Linked DNA regions of Homo sapiens: all the other regions are linked to region 1. Evidence: promoter capture Hi-C in human tissues and cell types (Jung and others, 2019). All regions are on one chromosome and are shown on one strand. The core of a region is centred on a gene start or on the middle of the fragment in contact, and the rest is flanking DNA. Distances in the headings are between cores, read along the strand shown. Region 1 holds the start of LRP5 (LDL receptor related protein 5). Region 2 overlaps PPP6R3 (protein phosphatase 6 regulatory subunit 3). Region 3 overlaps KMT5B (lysine methyltransferase 5B). Region 4 overlaps PPP6R3 (protein phosphatase 6 regulatory subunit 3).

What was found. The method cuts DNA at HindIII sites, captures the fragments that hold promoters and counts their contacts. A contact is called where the count stands out against the background at its distance.
Region 2: a fragment that was not itself captured here is called in contact with the fragment with the promoter of LRP5 in region 1 in 1 of the 25 tissues and cell types used here (hippocampus).
Region 3: a fragment that was not itself captured here is called in contact with the fragment with the promoter of LRP5 in region 1 in 3 of the 25 tissues and cell types used here (IMR-90 fibroblasts, adrenal gland and aorta).
Region 4: a fragment that was not itself captured here is called in contact with the fragment with the promoter of LRP5 in region 1 in 2 of the 25 tissues and cell types used here (dorsolateral prefrontal cortex and mesendoderm cells).

The regions. Positions count from the first base shown.
Region 1 is chr11:68,311,181-68,313,880 of GRCh38, forward strand. LRP5 (LDL receptor related protein 5) reads left to right here and starts at 1,411. Exons shown (of 23, transcript NM_002335.4): 1 at 1,411-1,625. The coding sequence starts at 1,535. LOC124900302 (a long non-coding RNA gene) reads left to right here and starts at 2,269. Exons shown (of 2, transcript XR_007062749.1): 1 at 2,269-2,700. RefSeq lists silencers at 1,036-1,325, 1,346-1,545, 1,736-1,895, 1,906-1,975 and enhancers at 1,397-2,272, 2,273-2,700. The HindIII fragment of the contact is 14,214 bases long and covers 1-2,700 here.
Region 2 is chr11:68,483,839-68,486,538 of GRCh38, forward strand. The region is part of intron 1 of PPP6R3 (protein phosphatase 6 regulatory subunit 3); the gene reads left to right. Among named protein-coding and RNA genes, the nearest start is that of PPP6R3, 24 kb to the left of the region's middle. The HindIII fragment of the contact is 3,598 bases long and covers 1-2,700 here.
Region 3 is chr11:68,170,478-68,173,177 of GRCh38, forward strand. It overlaps KMT5B (lysine methyltransferase 5B), which reads right to left. Exons shown (of 11, transcript NM_017635.5): 7 at 1,066-1,232; 8 at 755-774; 9 at 538-674. Among named protein-coding and RNA genes, the nearest start is that of KMT5B, 41 kb to the right of the region's middle. The HindIII fragment of the contact is 8,103 bases long and covers 1-2,700 here.
Region 4 is chr11:68,464,182-68,466,881 of GRCh38, forward strand. All of the region lies in intron 1 of PPP6R3 (protein phosphatase 6 regulatory subunit 3), which reads left to right. Among named protein-coding and RNA genes, the nearest start is that of PPP6R3, 4.8 kb to the left of the region's middle. The HindIII fragment of the contact is 5,718 bases long and covers 1-2,700 here.

The DNA of each region.
Region 1 (2,700 bases), core at 161-2,660:
AATATTTTTGCTGCTTAAATCCTAGCCTGGCTTCCCATTGCTCGTGGGGTGCATTCTCGATTCCTCTTCCCCGCCTGAGGTCTGACATGTGCTGGCCCTGGCTGGCCTCTCCTGTACCTTCTACCACCAGCTCCAGCTCATGGCCTGATGTGGTTCCTCCCCCGAATCCAGCGACCAGGCTGCCCTCTGCCCCAGCGCCTCCTCCGTGGATGTCTGCTCTTCCTGAACTGCCCTCCCACCGGACGGCTGCTCCTTGGTAGCAGCTCAAGTGTCCTTCCTTCCCTAAGCCAGTTTCCCCAAACACTGCAGCACAACGCCCTTCATTTCTCATGGCATTCTTCATGGCCTGTCAATGGGGCTTTTGTTGTTTTAATTTTCCGTCTTCTTGTTTTTGTTGGTCTTCCTAGAATATAAACCCCATGAGGGCAGAGGCGTTCAGCCTGACTCCAGCCTGGCAAAGCTGTCACAAATCTGGAGGAACACACACGTTCACGGGCACTCAGTTCTGTGAGGTACTGCAAGCCCTCTCTGAACCTGCAAGGTGGCCATTGCTGTCCCCACTTTACAAAGGAGGAAAGAGTGCGCGGAGAGGTTCTACTTAGACCCGCCAAGGGCACAGTCGTTCTAGAAAGTAGCAGACTGGGAGTTCCAACTTGGGCTTGCTGGTTCCAGAGCCCCTTCTGTGCCCCTTCCAGGCTGTGCCTGGGTGAGATTCTTCTCCTACCAGCACGTCTTCTTCCTGGAGGGTTCAGTGGCTGAGCTGACACCGGTGGGCAAGAGGCCCTGGCGGGCTTGTTGAAGGACTCAAAGGTGGCGTCTGGGAGCCTGGCGGGACTTTCTCCCTGTCAGCCTAGAGGCACTTTTAGAGGAGTGTGTCTGTTTCGCAGTCTTCGTGTCTCATAATTCATAACTAAGGTAGAGGGTACACATTTAGTTTACAGTAAAACCTCAAACCCACCTCCACTCCCAGCCGGCCACTTCTCTCCCTGTTCCCTTCTCTGCCCTCCACAGGTGAGAACAAGTGTCCGGGGCCGCCCCGTGGGGCCCCAGGCTGCCCGCCCTGAAACTGCCTCGCTGTGTGCCCTTGGGCAACCCCGCCCTGCTCCGTGCCTCAGTTTCCCCACTCATAGAGGCTCCACAGGTGACACACCTGGCTCCGGGCCCCGATCGGCCGCCGGGCCCCGCGGGGCGGAAACCCCGCGCCAAGCCTCCCGGAGGCACCTCCAGGGCAGGGCGGGGAGCGCGGGGAGGGGCCGCGGGGACCTGCGCCGCTGGGGCCGCCTGGCCGCCGGCCGGCTCCGGGGGGCGCCCGCGGGAGGGCGCGGCCGGTGCGGGGGGCGCGGGTGGCGGCGGCGGGGGGCGGAGACGCGGCGCGGCTTCCGCTCCCGCGCGCCCAGCTCCCTCCTCCCCGTCGTCCTGGTCCGCGGCGCCCGAGGGGGGAGGCGGAGGCGCCGGGAGCCGCGCGAGGAGCCGCCGCCGCCGCGCCATGGAGCCCGAGTGAGCGCGGCGCGGGCCCGTCCGGCCGCCGGACAACATGGAGGCAGCGCCGCCCGGGCCGCCGTGGCCGCTGCTGCTGCTGCTGCTGCTGCTGCTGGCGCTGTGCGGCTGCCCGGCCCCCGCCGCGGGTAGGTGGGCGCAGGCCGGCCGGGGGCCGCGGGTTGCTCGGACAATGGCCCGGGCGGCCCCGCGGCCAAGTGCGCGGGCGCCGCCGCCGTCTCGGAAGCGACTTGGCGAGTTGGGAGCGAGTTGGGGCGCGCGCCCGGGATCCCCCTGCCGTCCCCGGCGTCCCCGCCACGCGCGGGCCCTTTGTCTCCCCACCCGGGCCCTCCCCGGGGACGCTGCGTCCCGGGCTGGCGAGGAGGGCGCCCGCTCCGCCAGGTGCGGCGCGGGCGGGTCCTCACCTGCCCGAGCCCGCGGGAAGCCGGGAGCCGAGCCGAGCCCGCGCTGGGCCCGTGTGGCCCGGGCCGGGCACCGAGCGGGGACTTGGGGCGCGGAGGCGGGCCTGGCCCGGGGAGCCGGTTCGCAAGCCTGTTTCCAGCGGCCGCGCGGCCGCCCCGCGTGCTCCGAGGACGGGCTGAAGTTGCAGCGAGAAAGTTCTGAGCCCGGGCGCGGGGCGGCCTGGCCGGTGGCGCTGCTCCTGTGAGCCGCGTGGCTGTGGGTTTCCAAGCGGACTGACACCTGCCAGGTGCCCGGGCGACCCGAATGCCCCGTGTGGCCGCCGGGTCCCCAGATAGTGTCCATCCCCGGGTCGGCTACGCGGAGGTGACGTGGTCCCAGATCGCGGGGCAGTGGGGGAGGCAGGCTTGTGCCTCAGTTGTACACTCCCGTGGGGAGAGGTAGGGCGGGGGAACTTTCTCTCCAACTTTTGGTGTTTCCCAGGGGGTGGAGTTGAGGTCAGGAGGACTCAGGAAACTTAAGCAGTCGTGAAACGCTACACATGTTCTTTTAATTTGGAGATTGCCATGTGGTTTTTCAAGCAAGCCTCTTGCTACCTAAATCATTCTCTTCGGATGTGCGTGTTTTGTTTTTCTGGAGTATGGCTGGCCAAGTGGCACGGCCGCAAGTGCCTGTGCACGCCGCGGCTCCTGTTCTGTTTGTGGCAGTTTAGCGGGGAGGACCTCGGGCCCCTTTGTCTGGGCCTCCTTAAGGCAAACAGCTGTCTCCCTGAATATTTCCAGTGTGAATGGTGCAGCGGGGTGG
Region 2 (2,700 bases), core at 197-2,696, 170 kb after region 1:
ACAGAATGGTTTCACTGCCCTACAGATCCTCTGTGCCTCATCTATTCATCCTTACCTCCCTGCAACCTCTGGCGACCACTAATCCTTTTACTGTCTGCATAGCTTTGTCTTTTCCAGAATGTCATACATTGTTTATGTAGCCTTTTCATATTGGCTTCTTTCACGTAATAATATGCATTAAGTTTTCTTCATGTCTTTTCATGGCTTGATAGCTCATTCCTTTTTAGTGCTGAATAATATTCCATTGTCTGGATGTGCCCAAATTTATTCATTCACCTACTGAAAGATAGCTTGGTTGCTTCCCAATTTTGGCAATTGTGGATAAAGATGCTGTAAATATCCGTGTGCAGGTTTTTGTGTGGACGTAAGTTTTTTCACTTTACTTCGGCAGATACCAAGGAGTATGATTACTGTATTGTACAGAAAGAGTATGTTTGCTGTTTGGAAGAAACTGCCCACAGTGGCTGTACCATTTTATATTCGCACCAGCAATGAATGAGAGTTCCTCTTGCCCCACATTGTTGACAGTGTTTGGTGATGTGTCTTGAGTTTGGCCATTTTAATAGATGTGTTGTGCTATCTCATTGTTGCTTTAATTTGCAGTTCCCTAATGATGTATGATGTTGAACATGTTTTCAAATGCTTACTTGCTGTCTGTAATGTTTGCTCAGGTCTTTTGTCCATTTTTTAATCAGGTTGTTCATTTTTTTGAGTTTTAAGTGTCTATATATATTTTTATATATATATAATATAAGATACATATTTTGAGACGGAGTTTCGCTCTTGTTGCCCAGGGTGGAGTGTAATGGCACAGTCTTGGCTCACTGCAACCTCTGCCTCCTGAGTTCAAGTGATTTTCCTGCCTCAGCCTCCGGAGTAGCTGAGATTACAGGTGCCCGCCACCACGCCCAGCTAATTTTTGTGTTTTAGTAGAGATGGGGTTTCACCATGTTGGTCAGGCTGGTCCCAAACTCCTGACCTCAGGTGGTCCACCCACCTCGGCCTCCCAATGTGCTGAGATTACAGGCATGAGCCACAGCGCCCAGCCTTCTTTATATATTTTTGGATAATAGTTGATTATCAAATGTGTTGTCAGATTTTGATCAGGATTGCATTGAATCTGTAGATCAAGTTAGGCAGAACTGATATCATGACAATATTGAACCTTCTTATCCATGAACATGGAATATCTCTTCATTTGTTTAGTTCTTCTTTGGGGTCTGTCATCAGAGTTTTATAGTTTTCCTTATATAGATCTTGTACATATTTTGTTTTATACCTAAGTATTTCATTTTTTGGATATGTTAATATAAATAATTTTTTTTTTATTTTCAAATTCCACTTGTTCCTTGCAGGTATATAGGAAAGCAGTTGATGTTTGTATATTAACCTTGTAGCCTGTAACCTTGGTATAATGGCTTATAAGTTCTGGGACTTTTTTTTTTTTTTTTTTTCAATTCCTTCACATTTTCTCCATCATGTTGTCTGTCAACAAAGACAGTTTTATTTTATGCTTTCCAATCTGTATACTTTTTATTTCCTTTTCTTATTGAATTAGCTAGGACTTCCAGTATGATATGATGGAAAAGGATGATGAGAGGGAACATCTTTGCCCGCTTCCTGATCTTAGTGGGAAAGCTTTAATTTCTGACCATCAATTATGATGATAGTTGTAGGTTTTTGATATATGTTGTTTATCAAGTTGAGGAAGCTTCTTACTGTTCCTAGTTTTCTGAGTGTTTTTTGAAATGAACAGGTGTTGGATTTTATTAAATGCCTTTTCTGCATCTGTTGATGTGATCAGGTGAGTCTTCTTGAACCTACTGATGTGATGGGTCATGTTAATTAATTGATTTAAAAAATTATTTATTTTGAGACAAGAGTCTCACTTTGTCACATAGGCTGGAGTGCAGTGGGATGATCTTGGCTCACTGCAGCCTTGGCCTCCTGGGCTTAAGCAATCCTCCTGTCTTAGTCTCCCAAGTAGCAGGGACTACAGGTGTGTGCCATCATGCCCGGCGACAGATTTTTGATTATTAAAGCAGCCTTGGCTGGGCACAGTGGCTCACACCTGTAATCTCAACACTTTGGGAGGCCAAGGCAGACAGATCACTTGAGGCCAGGAGTTTGAGACCAGCCTGAGTGACACAGTGAAACCACTTTCTTAACTAAAAATACAAGAAAAAAAAAAAAGCTACACCTAATTTTTTGAGACTCAAAAAGAGTCTCAAAAAGAAAAAAATTAAAGCAGCCTTAAATACGGGATAAATATTTGGTTGTGGTATATAATTTTTTATATATAATGCTTTTTATGTATAATTATTTTTATGTATTGATTCAGTTTTCCCATATTTTGTTGAGGATTTTTATATCTGTGTTCATGAGAGATACTGATTTGTACTTGCCTTGTAGTGTCCTTGTCTGATTTTGGTATTATGGTTATGCTGACCTCATAGAATGAATTAGAAAGTATTCTGTCTGCGACTGCCGGGTGCAGTGGCTCACACTTGTAATCCCAGCACTTTGGGAGGCCGAGGCGGGTGGATCACAAGTTCAGGAGATCAAGACCATCCTGGCTAACACGGTGAAACCCCATCTCTCTTAAAAATACAAAAAATTAGCTGGGTGTGGTGGCGGGCGCCTGTAGTCCCAGCTACTTGGGAGGCTGAGGCAGGAGAATGGCGTGAACCCGGGAGGCGG
Region 3 (2,700 bases), core at 97-2,596, 140 kb before region 1:
CAATATGAACTGGTGGTCCTGCCAATGAAGATCTGGGGGATTTCTGTAAAGACTCCAGGACTCTTGATGAGACATAAGAAGAGGTTCCTTATTGAATGACTGATATCAGGGAACAACTCTTAAGAACTGTGAAACCAAAATTCCAGAAGACACAGCTTGATAATATGCAAGACGACTATCAGTGGTGAACTCCACTTGACATTTTGAGTAGCGGCAACCCCATTCTGGCATTGCGTGTGTGCATGTGTGTGAGCTATTAACCATTCTCTCCTTAAGCACATCTGTATTCTGGCCCACTCTTAGCTGGTAATATTAAGATTTTAAAGGGAAATTTTAAATTTATTGAGGGACATTCCAATGTCCCTAAATAGCTGTGCAGCATTTGACTTTGTTCATACACACTGCACCAGCCGCTATGCTAAAGAACATAAAGACTATCTCTGCATTTAAACAACAAAGAGATAATGTGAGTTTAATCCCCATAATCAGGTTGTTAACAAAAAATGTTTAGGCTGAACATTTTACTTAATACCTTACCTTTCGCAAGTGTAACACTCGCAGAACTCATTATTTTCTCCAAAGAACCCATCTCCATAATAACAAGAAATTTCTTCTCCAGGTTCAATGTCTCTTAGAGCCTTCACACATGCTGTATCTCGACCAGTTGACACAAACTAAAATAAAAGTAACTCAGTAAGAAACTCACACCTGAAGCAAAAACAAAATACTTGAAGAAAATTTTTTTAATGCTTACCTTACAATTAGGTCTGCAATCTGAAAAATGTCCAAAAGATAAAGTCAATTAACTGTTGATAAGATCTGAAACACGAACAATTATAGAAATCTGAAATAAGCTTTCCATATAACTTTACAACTTTTGATAGGAGTTTAGGTCTCAAGTTCAACTAAAGGAATATACATTTATTTTAATAAGTTTGTGGAAACATTTCTATTTCAAATTCTCCTTTAAAGGAAGATAAAGGTTTGACTGAGGTTGACAAGGCCATTCTAGCAGTTAGCAGGAATGGCCAACACTAGCGCCAACACCTTGGAAACACAGCTTACCATGGTTTATAAACGCAGCAGGACCCAGCCAGAGTTGAGCACAGTTTTTCCTTGTGGAGTACATGACACTGAAGTCGTTTTCTCCATGTCTAAGTAGCATGTTCTCCTCAATTTCTGAAAGTTCGGCAATACAACCCACCAGTAATTCTATTTTGTCATTTCGTTTCCTATTTAAAATATGTGATGTGTTAAAAATTACTAGTAATTAAATATAGTAAGGCTTCTTTTAATAAAATAATCCTGACAATAAATATCAGAAACTGAAAAGGCCTAGCTGTCTATACTTTAGTTAGCTCACTGGGATCCCCACCTGGCTATCTTCTCTCCTACCCTGGAGCTCCACAGCCTTGTGCCATGGTTACTTGTGTACCTATCTTATTCCTGCAAGAGAATGGAAACTCAACCAGGACAGGGACTATGCCACCTATGTCTCTGAATGCCCTGGTGTGGTGTTTTGCAAGCAGAAAGTACTCAAATACTTGCGGCAATGAATTAAACTTTCTGACTGCTGGATGAAGCAGGCAGGGACCAGTGGCAGTAAGGGTTATGAGGATCCGGAATCATGGTGCCACTCTTTAGAGCACACCATCTGCTAGGAATATAATGCAAGCCAAATTTTCAATCTTAAATTTTTTAGCAGCCACATTGAGAAAGTTAAGTGAATATAGGTGAAATTACTTTAACAATTTATTTTATTTTATTTTATTTGAGACGGAATCTCGCTCTGTTGCCCAGGCTGGAGTGCAGTGGCGTGATCTCAGCTCACTGCAACCTCTGCCTCCTGAGTTCAAGTGATTCTCCTGCCTCAGCCTAAGTAGCTGGGACTACAGGTGTGTGCCACCACACCTAGCTCATTTTTTTTTTTTGTATTTTTACTAGAGATGGAGTTTCACCGTGTTGGCCAGGATGGTCTCGATTTCTTGACGTCATGATCCGCCCACCTCAGCCTCCCAAAGTGCTGGGATTACAGATGAGCCACCATGCCCAGCCAACAATATATTTTAACCCAATATCCAAAATACGATTTCAGTAGGTAATATAAGAACTATGAATGGGAATAAAATTTAATATGAAATCTGGTGTGTATAGCACACTTACAGCGCTTCTCAATTCAGACTAGCTACATTTCAAGGACTCAAGGGCTGGTGGCTACTGTACCGGACGGTACAGCTCTAGGACTCTAGATCTCAAACCTACACACCCATCTGCAACACAGGGAGCCACATAATCCAACTAGCAGGCTCAATACATCCTGAGGTAAATGAAGCACATTTCATGTACACACACTCACCCCAGAGGCCTGGCAATAAAGTTCTTTTACCTATCCATTTTCAGATATCTGACCCCCCAAATTTTTGTGGTAGAAATATCAGAGGGTGGGTACATGAGGAGCTACATGTTTTTCCTGGGAGATAACATAGGGAACAGGCATGATAGGAAAGAAGATACAGTAGTATATTCTCTTTCATCTGTAACTTTTATCCCTTTTAGCTGGGCTCAACTCTGACTTAATTTTGAGATAGAGTCTCACTCTATTGCCCAGGCTGGAGTGCAGTGGCGCGATCTCAGCTCACTATAGCCTCTGTCTCCTGGGTTCAAGTGATTCTCCTGCCTCAGCCACCCGAGTAGCTAGGA
Region 4 (2,700 bases), core at 199-2,698, 150 kb after region 1:
GAGTGTGGTGGTGCCATCTCGGCTCACTGCAACCTCTGCCTCCTGGGTTCAAGCAGTTCTCTGCCTCAGCCTCCCTAGTGGCGGGGATTACAGGCACCCGCCACCATGCCCGGCTGTTTTTTGTATTTTTAGTAGAGATGGAGTTTCACATCTTGGCCAGGGTGGTCTTGAACTCCTGACCTCGTGATCTACCCGCCTCGGCCTCCCAAAGTGCTGGGATTACAGGTGTGAGCTACCATGCCCGGCCACGAGAATCTATTTTTTAGAAGCTTCTCAGACAATACTGAAATGCAGCTGAATTTTGGAACCACTGTTTTACACCACAGGTTTAGGGACTGTTTGTGAGTTAAGGGTTCCTTTCGGTGATCTGTGAACTTGGTCTTTGCAGTACCTAGATCCTGCCTTGGAGATTATTTAGTAGTGGGGATTATTTAGATGGTATACTTAACCATTTTTCAGATGCCTGAAGACTGAACTTTAGAAGCATTTGTTAATTGATTTTATAAAATATCTTAGGACTTTTTTTTCTTAACCTCATGAAAATACATTACCATACTGTGCTGAAACTAAGCAAAATTCTTAGATATTTAGAGTTTGCTTCTGTGCTGAATAATCTTACACTACTGTAATTTTTGAGTTAGTATCTTTTGCCCTCCTTTTGTCAGTCAGTGGTCAGGTCTGGTTTTAGATGCCAGCTTCAACTTTTTTTTTTTTTTTTCGGAGACAGTCTCACTATGTCACCCAGGCTGGAGTGCAGTGGCATGATCTTGGCTCACTGCAACCTCCGCCTCCTGGGTTCAAGTGATTCTCCTGCCTTAGCCTCCTGAGTAGCTAGGATTACAGGTGCGTGCCACCACACCTGGCTCATTTTTGTATTTTTAGTAGAGATGGGGTTTCACCATGTGGGCCAGGCTGGTCCCGATCTCCTGACCTCAAGTGATCCGCCCGCCTCGGCCTCCCAAAGTGCTGGGATTACAGGCGTGAGCCACCATGCCTGTTTTTTGTTTTTGTTTTTGTTTTAATAAAGACCTATTCCCAGAGAATTAGCCCTGGATCAGTTTACCAGTTCTGCCCATTGAGGGCACAGATAGGCATACAGTATGCTCAGCCTTTAACACAGTGATCCTGCCCACTGGTAAGTTGGACTCTTCTGTGCCCTAGACTCTGATCCCAGCAGAGAAGTGTTCTTTTCTCCTGGGGAGATGAGATGCAGTGGTAGAGAGAAGGGTAGATCTTTTTTGCTCATATTAAAATTTAGATTATCTAGTTTATGGAATGGAAGAATATTAGGAAAACTATAAATTTTTAGCAGCTAAATGTTAATATCTGAAGTTACAAAAGGTCATGGAGGCATTTTCTTATTCTTCATCCTGAAATTCGGCCTGTGCCTATGTTGAGAACTACCAGTGACCACCATCTACTTCTAATATCCATTTATTTCATCAGCAAATACATTAATTGAGTCCTTACTCTGCTAGGAACTGTATTAGGGATTCACTGATGAACAGGCCCTTAAGGACCTGCAGTCTAGAGGAAGAGGCAAACAAGAGACGACAAAGCTGTTAAGAATTGTACATGGTGTCAATGGGGCCTGGGAGGAAAGAGCTTCTGTTTGCTGGTCAGTTGGTTGATTTGTTTAAACTTTGGGTGGTTGAGATTGCCAGAAGTTTTGCAAAAGAATAAGATAGTTACACTTTGTTACTCATTTATAAGAAATGATTACTTCGACTTGCCTCCTTAGTTTGAGGAGTCTTAAAAAGCAGTGCCATTCTTCCCATACTGAAGCCGTTTTGTAATGACAGATAGCTGTTTATAGCTCCCTACACAACAGTTATCCTTTGACCAAACCTCAGACACTGACTCTCTGGTTCCAGACCCGTCCGAAGCTTGCTGTAGGTTTTTGCAAAATGTTTCCGGCATTCTTGAAATAGATGCTACTTCAAGTGGGAGGGGGTGTTTCTCCTGCTGCATTATGGATCTAGGTTGACTGGAGATTTTGTTTTGGCCTTTTGACTTTGGCTTAGATTTATTTGTCATGGAAGCCCCCTTTCCTACTTCTCACCCCCTTTAGTTTTATGAGGAGGGAGATAGTTGCTAGTTAGATCAATACTCAGTTTATTTCAGGTATTGAAAGATTACAGACTGACATTTGGATACCAGGTAGGTTGGCTACGTGGTAAAGAAGCAAGTAAAAGGGCATTTGACAGTATGTGGAAAGGTATCTTATCTCTATGCCTAGCTAGGACATTTTCTTTTTTTTTTTTTTTTTTTTGTTGAGACGGAGTCTCGCTCTGTCACCCAGGCTGGAGTGCAGTGGCGTGGTCTCGGCTCACTGCCAGCTCTGCCTCCCGGGTTCACGCCATTCTCCTGCCTCAGCCTCCCCAGTAGCTGGGACTACAGGGGCCGGCCACCATGCCCGGCTAATTTTTTGTATTTATTTATTTATTTTGAGACGGAGTCTCACACTGTCGCCCGGGCTGGAGTGCAGTGGCGCTATCTCGGCTCACTGCAAGCTCCGCCTCCCAGGTTCACACCATTCTCCTGCCTCAGCCTCCCGAGTAGCTGGGACTACAGGTGCCTGCCACCACGCCCGGCTAATTTTTTTTGTATTTTTATAGAGATGGGGTTTCTCCGTGTTAGCCAGGATGGTCTCCATCTCCTGACCTTGTGATCCGCCCGCCTTGGCCTCCCAAAGTGCTG